2 separate regions of the Homo sapiens genome follow, and region 2 is linked to region 1. Evidence: promoter capture Hi-C in 16 types of primary human blood cells and fetal thymus (Javierre and others, 2016). All regions are on one chromosome and are shown on one strand. The core of a region is centred on a gene start or on the middle of the fragment in contact, and the rest is flanking DNA. Distances in the headings are between cores, read along the strand shown.

The links. Contacts are between HindIII fragments. The CHiCAGO score rates a contact against its expected background, and 5 or more counts as called.
Region 2: a fragment that was not itself captured here is called in contact with the fragment with the promoter of RNF166 in region 1 in 1 of 17 cell types (non-activated CD4 T cells); the score reaches 5.4 in non-activated CD4 T cells.

Annotation. Positions count from the first base shown.
Region 1 is chr16:88,704,753-88,708,182 of GRCh38, reverse strand. It overlaps RNF166 (ring finger protein 166), which reads left to right and starts at 1,775. Exons shown (of 6, transcript NM_178841.4): 1 at 1,775-2,012. The coding sequence starts at 1,858. It overlaps CTU2 (cytosolic thiouridylase subunit 2), which reads right to left and starts at 1,680. Exons shown (of 15, transcript NM_001012759.3): 1 at 1,585-1,680; 2 at 973-1,047. The coding sequence starts at 1,652. RefSeq lists silencers at 1,412-1,721, 1,762-2,041 and an enhancer at 1,663-2,300. The HindIII fragment of the contact is 28,082 bases long and covers 1-3,430 here.
Region 2 is chr16:89,200,201-89,203,569 of GRCh38, reverse strand. SLC22A31 (solute carrier family 22 member 31) reads left to right here and starts at 3,033. Exons shown (of 9, transcript NM_001384763.1): 1 at 3,033-3,092. The coding sequence starts at 3,069. RefSeq lists a silencer at 1,877-1,966 and an enhancer at 2,259-2,881. The HindIII fragment of the contact is 3,791 bases long and covers 1-3,149 here.

The sequences.
Region 1 (3,430 bases), core at 526-3,025:
ATTCTGCCGGCAGCCTGGTGTTCTTGGCAATTTCAGATGCTCCTGGGTGGTTAAAGAAGTACCTATCTTGGCCAGGTGTGGTGGCTCATGCCTGTAATCCCAGCACTTTGGGAGGCCGAGGCAGGTGGATCACTTGAGGTCAGGAGTTCGAAACCAGCCTGGCCAACATGGTGAAACCCTGTCTCTACTAAAAATACAAAAACAATTGGCCGGGCATGATGGCAGGCACCTGTAATCCCAGCTACTCAGGAGGCTGAGGCAGGAGAATCACTTGAACCCAGGAGGTAAAGGTTGCAGTGAGCTGGGATCATGCACTCCAGCTGTTGCACTCCAGCCTGGGTGACAGAGGGAGACTCCATCTCAAAAAAAACAACAACAACAACAAAAAAACCACGCACCACCACTGGGAATTAAGAGGGCTAAAAGGAGAGAGACCTGGTCCTCCCTTCAGGGAGCTATGAGTCTAGTGGAAACAACTGAACAATACAATGGCTACAAGCCAAGAAAGACATGACAAGCGCCTGGGGGAAAGCTAGAGGTCTTCCAAGCCTCTATCCTGCCACAGATGAAACAAGCATCTCACACGAGATTAAAAACTTTCACCCAGACCATCTGCCAAGTTCCCAAGATGCTCTGATCCGCCCCTAGATGTATTCCAGCTGCCCCCAAACGCCTGGTCCTCCTACAGCTTATCCCAGTCTAGACACCACGGCCCCACTTCCAACTGTCCCCATAAGTTCCATCAGAAACCTCATCAGGGGATCTGTGGCTAGCTCATGGGAAACTTTCCCAAGCAGGAAACCAATGCTTTCGCCTCCACTTCAACACCAGGGGCACGAGGGACCCCATCAGGAGCAGGAATAAAGTAAGTACATGTTTTTAAAAAGAATTAACAAAGCATCACAAGTTGCGGCTATCCTGTCTGCTAGCGAGGCCATGTTTGCCAGGGTCTCAGCCACCTCCAGGCCTCACCTGCAGAAGGCATCTCCGGCTCGTATCACCACAACGGGCTGCGCTTCCTTGCACTTCACACACTTCTGCTCACGGCTTTGGAGATGGGAGGGGGGAGAAGAGAGAAACACAGATCACATCTTCCCCACGCCTAGTGGGCTTTGGGGAGACAGCTCCTGTTTCTCACCCTGAGTTGGGTCAGAGAAAGGCACCTCGGTACACACACAAACCCAGGCTTGTGTTCTGTCCAAACTTCAAGAAAAACAAAGGCTCTGGGGGGATGTTTAGCCTAGAAAAGCCGGCTCAGGGGGCACATAAAGGCCGCTTTTCAGTCTCCCAAGGCTGACACGGGGAGGCGAGACAGCTTCACGGCACCAGTTCTCTCCGAATAAGGACAGCACTGTCAGCGGCAGAGCCGTCCCCAGTGGCTGCTAGGATGAGAGGCGCGAGCCAGTGGAGTAAGTCCCCTTCTAGGTGGCCGTCACCGCTTGACAGGCATTCCCCGAGTGCTAGGGAGCGAGGTCCCGCTCTCCACGCGGGGCTTCCCGGAGCAAGCCCGGCCGGGACCCTTCGGGGCAGGAGTGCGGCGGGAAGGCGAGGGGCGGCCTGGCGGGTCCGGCCGCCAGCTCTTACCTGGGCCGCGGCGCCGGGGGCGGCTCCTCAGGCGCCGGCTCCCCGTAGTCCTCGCCCACCTGACACATGGGCACGCCGGGTCCCGTCGCAGACTGTGGCGGCGACAGCGCGAGGGCGCGCCCCGATGACGTCGGAGTGGCGCCGTGACGGCCGCGAAGCCCGGCTGGGGGCGGCGCCCTACGATGACGTCAGCGCGGCGCAGTAGCGGCTGTGACTAGCGGGCCGGCCCGGGCCAGGACAGCGGGCGGCGGGCGGCGCGGGCCTGGCCCCGGGATGGCTATGTTCCGCAGCCTGGTGGCCTCGGCTCAGCAGCGGCAGCCGCCGGCCGGGCCGGCGGGCGGCGACAGCGGCCTGGAGGCGCAGTACACCTGCCCCATCTGCCTGGAGGTCTATCACCGGCCCGTGGCCATCGGCAGCTGCGGCCACACGTGAGCGCGCCCGCCCAGGGGCCGCGGGGAGGGGGCCGTGCCCCGCCGCGGGAGGGGTCGCGAGGCCGGCGGCCGCCCCGGTGCAGCTCCGGACTGGGCGCGCGGGGACTCGGGGCGCCGGGGCCTCGGGGCGCGTGGGGTCCGGGTTTCCCTGTGCCGCGCCGCCTCTGCCCTCTGGGCGCGTTCATCCCCCGCCCAGCCTCCTTCGCGCCAGCCGCAGGCGCCCGGTCCGACTGCTGCTTCGGTTCACCGGGCGACCTGCGGCCCTGCCCAAGCTCGGGGTCCCCGGCGGCTGCGGCGGGCGCTCCGGTACTCAGAGGGCAGCAGGTGCCACCGCTCCGCCAGTGGTGGTGGATTTGGGCTTGTGCGGCTGGAATGGGCAGTTGTAAATAAATAACTTGTAGTTTTTGCTATCAACTCTTGTTCGGACCCGCTGTCTGCCTGTTTTGACTACAGAGGAAAGGAGTTCCCTAAAGTTTAGAGGGGCTTGTTTGGAGTCTGATGTTCTTAGTTTTGTTTGAAGGAGAACTTGAGTCACACCGATCACTGAGTAGCCAGGCAGGCTGGTCCACAGAGGAGCAGACACTGACCACCTTGCTGGGGTTTCCAGCTGCACCAGGGCTCACAGCCGGCTCCTCCAGGGTGTTTCAGGAACAGAAACTGGAGGACGTGGCTCTCCTGGCGGGGAGCTGTGCTCAAGTATTCTGGAGCTGCCAGCCCCGTTGGGAGGAAGCCTAGATCAGTGTCTGCTCCCTCCTAAGTGCTGAATAATACAGCTCTTGAGCAAAATCAGCAGTGGCAGGGGAGAGAGAGAGCAGGAGGGCTTCCCCGCAGACATCCAAGCTGCTGAGGTGGTGGAGTGGAGGGGGGTGCACCCAGACTGGTAGGAGGCTCTAGAACATTTTGCAAGCAAAGTCAGCTGACTTCAGGGGCTCCTGGTACAGAGGGAGCTGGGACTGCTAGGTGGATGTGTGCTGGTCACCCACGGAGGTGGCAGGGCCAGTGTCAGGATGCAGAGCTGCCTTCATTACCTGTGTCAGGCAGCACAGGCGCCTGCCCACGCTGGGACAGCTCTACCTACTTCTCTTGTGAGGCTGCTACAGGCTCTGCCCCTGCTCCTCCATCTCACTTAGCCGTGACATTTTGGGGGGGCAGCCTCTGAACGGGAATATTTTTTTTTGAGACAGAGTCTTGCTCTTGTCACCCAGCCTGGAGTGCAGTGGCGCCATCTCGGCTCACCGCAACCTCCATCTCCTGGGTTCAAGTGATCCTCCTGCCTCAGCCTCCAGAGTAGCTGGGATTACAGGCACCCGCCACCACGCCCGGCTAATTGCTGTATTTTTAGTAGACAAGGGGTTTCACCATGTTGGCCAGGCTGGTCTCGAACTCCTGACCTCCGGTGACCTGCCCGTCTCAGC
Region 2 (3,369 bases), core at 5-2,504, 500 kb before region 1:
CATTATTCACAATTGCCAAAAGGTGGAAGCAACCTAGTTTACAGAAACAGATGAATGGGTAAACCAAATGTGACATATCCATACAATGGAGTATTATTCTGCCTTTAAAAAGAAGGAAATTCTAACATATGGAAAGATATGAATGAATCTTGAGGACATTATGCCAAATGAAATAAACCGTTCACAAAAAGAAAAATGCCGTGTGATTCCACTTCTAAGAGATACTTAGCTTAGTCAAAATCACACACAGAATACAGAATGCTAGTTCCCTGGGGCGAGGAGGAGGGGCTATGGGGAGTTACTATGTAACGGGCATCGAGTTTCTGTTTTACAAGGTGAACAGAGTTAAGGAGCTGGATGGGGGTGACGGCTGCACCATAGTGTGAATGTATTTGATACCACTGAACTGCACACTTAAAATGGTTAAGATGATACATTTTGTTGTGCTTTATCACAATAAAATAACTGAAACAAACCGGAACATGGGTGTTGGCAAGGATGTCGGGGAACGAGCACCCTTCTGTATTGCTGGTGGTGAAATCGAACCGCCGCTGCGGAAAACCGTTCTGCGGTTTCACAAACAGTTCACACCCTAAGGCCCAGCTATTCATGCCTAGGTATACACCAAAGATAAATGGAAACAGGCACCCAAATACTTGTACGAAAATGTTCATCGTGTCACTGGACGCAAAAGGCAAAAAGTGGAAACAACCCACTGTCCATCAACAGAGGAAGAGAGAAACGTGTGGGCTCCATCCACGGAATATTATTCACTCCTGAAAAGGAACGCGGGTCTGATCCCCGCTCCACCGGGGACGAACCTTGAAGACGCGATTCTAAGCGAAAGACGCCGGAACACAAAAGGCCACAGCACGTAGGGCTCCATTGAACGGAGGTCAGAACAGGCTGGTCCGCGGAGCAGGGCGGGGGCTGCAGGGCCCTGGAGGGGCGCGGAGAGCGGCCGCCGACGGGCGGGCTCTGCTCGGGTAGAAGCTGTTCCGGAGCCCGAGAAGGTGCTGGTCCCGCAACACTGTTGGGGGGGCCCCGCTGAGCTGAGCCTTGCGACCCGGTTTATGTGACGTGAGTTCCACCTCAATCTAAGTGTGAGGAAGCGAACAGCGTTCTGAAACGCAGAAACGTGCCCATTCGAATTGTTAACGCGAGCGCAGAGCCCACTGACAAAGCAAAATAAGACAAACCGGGAGTCAGAAAACTCAGCGACCCACAGGATCCACCGTGATGTTTCCCACAAATGTTACCGCGAAAACAGTCGGACTTGAAAATAAACGCGACCTACCTGGTTCTCGGAAGGGGAGAAGGATCCGGGCGAAAGGCGTCAGTTCTCCCTCGCTCGCCCCGTAGACGCAGCGCAGGCCCCGAGCTCCCGAGCGGCGGTTTCAGAACCCGCGGGTCACCCGGGAGCTCCTCCCGCAGTACCAGCCGAAAGCTCCCAGCGCCGAGGAGGGCGGGCGGCTGCCCTCCCCGACCTCGCCCCGCCCGCGCGGACGCCCCCGGCCCCACGCGGGGACCACCCCGGGACGCCGGCCGGAGCCCGCGCGCCCCCGGGCAACCTGAGTGCACCTGCGCCGCGAGGGCACCTGAGCGCTCCCGGCCACGCCCCTGCCACGCCCCCGGCCCCCACGTGCCGCCCTCACGGGGCCCCGCCCCCTCGCGGTTCGGCCGCAAGCCCCGCCTCTCAACCTTCCCGCCCCTCAACCTCCCCGCCCTATGCCCCAGATCGGGCCCCGCCCCTTTACGCCTTAGGCCCCGCCCTCACACCGCCCGCCCCCACACCCCGCCTCCACTGGACTCAGGCTCCGCCCCTTAATGCCTCGCCCCAAAGCCCCGCCCCAGGAGCCCGCCCTGGTCCAGGCCCCGCCCCGTCCCGAGCGCAGCCTGCGACCGATGGAGCAGGAGGCGCGGGTGCTGAGAGCTGCGGGCGGCTTTGGCCGGGCCCGGCGCCTGCTGGCCTCCGCCTCGTGGGTACCCTGCATAGTGCTGGGGCTGGTGCTGAGCTCCGAGGAGCTGCTTACCGCGCAGCCCGCGCCCCACTGCCGACCGGACCCCACGCTGTTGCCCCCAGCGCTGCGCGCCCTGCGCGGACCCGCGCTGCTGGACGCCGCCATCCCGCGCCTGGGGCCCACGCGAGCCGCGAGCCCCTGCCTGCTCCTGCGCTACCCCGATCCCGCGCCCTGCACCCGCCCCGGGCCCGCGCCCCGCGCCCGCACGCAACGGCACCCGGCCCTGCACACGCGGCTGGCTCTACGCGCTGCCCGGCGCCGGCCTCCTGCAAAGCCCGGTCACCCAGGTGCGCCCCCGTCCCTGCTGCCCCGCAGCCCTCCCCGCCCCCAGCCCGCCGAGGCCCTGGGTGTCCTTTCTCCATCCTACCTGGCGCCTCTGACCCGGGCCCCCCGGCCGTCCTCCTGGGCTTCCTGCTCCGGGGCGGCCGCCGGCCCGACGGTGCCGCAGACGGGCGCGCACGGGCCGGACCCGCGGAGAGGGGCCGGGCGGGGGCTGAATCTGGGCCTGGGAGCTGCCAGGCGCGGGGCGGCCTGGGGCGCTGGAGGATTGGAGCCGAAGGCGCCGGTGGGGGAGCAGGGCCTGGAATTTGCTTCAGGACCACCAGCGTCTTCAGCAGACCGTGGCTTTGGGCTGGCTTTCCAAGGCAGAGTCTCTGCTTGGAGGGACTGACGTGGTCAGCACAGACTGGGGAAGGTGGGCTTCCCATCAGTGAGGTGCGCAGAGGCTGGGCTAGAGACTGCATTGCCTGAAGGGAAACCTTGACGATCTGCGTGAGAAGAGATGGGGAGGCGGGCGGCAGGGACCTCCAGGCCCCTTTCATGCCTTTCCGCGCTGGGGCTGAGACCTGCACACCCCTGAGGCAGCCTTTACCCCGAGGCCCCCATCCCCCATCCTGGGAGGACTGGCCCCAGTGTGGAAACTGGAACGGGGTTGCCACATCTTCACAAGGGCTGCCTGGGGCCCTGGAACCCGCCGGGCTTCTCTCTCCACCCTGCTCCCTCCCACCTCCCACCTGCCCTCCTCCTGTTTGGTGCCTGGATCCAGGAATGCCCCATCAGCTTTCCCAAAACGTCAGGTTTGAAAGTAAAATCTCGGGCATAGCACGGCCCCCAGCAGTAGATTAAGCTTGCCAAGAAGACCCAGGAACCGGAAGGGGTGGGGGGAGGCGCAGAGCTGAGGTCAAGGGTCAAGGGCCTCACCGGGAAATGCCGCTGAGCACAGCTCTCCAGCCGCTGCCCGAGTCCCTCTTGAAATGGGCAGGGCAGGGAGGGCGTGGGTACCAGCGCAGGTGCTGGGGTTCATTTCTTAGGCCTGTGTCATGGCTATGACCCTTGGCCGGCTGGGGTG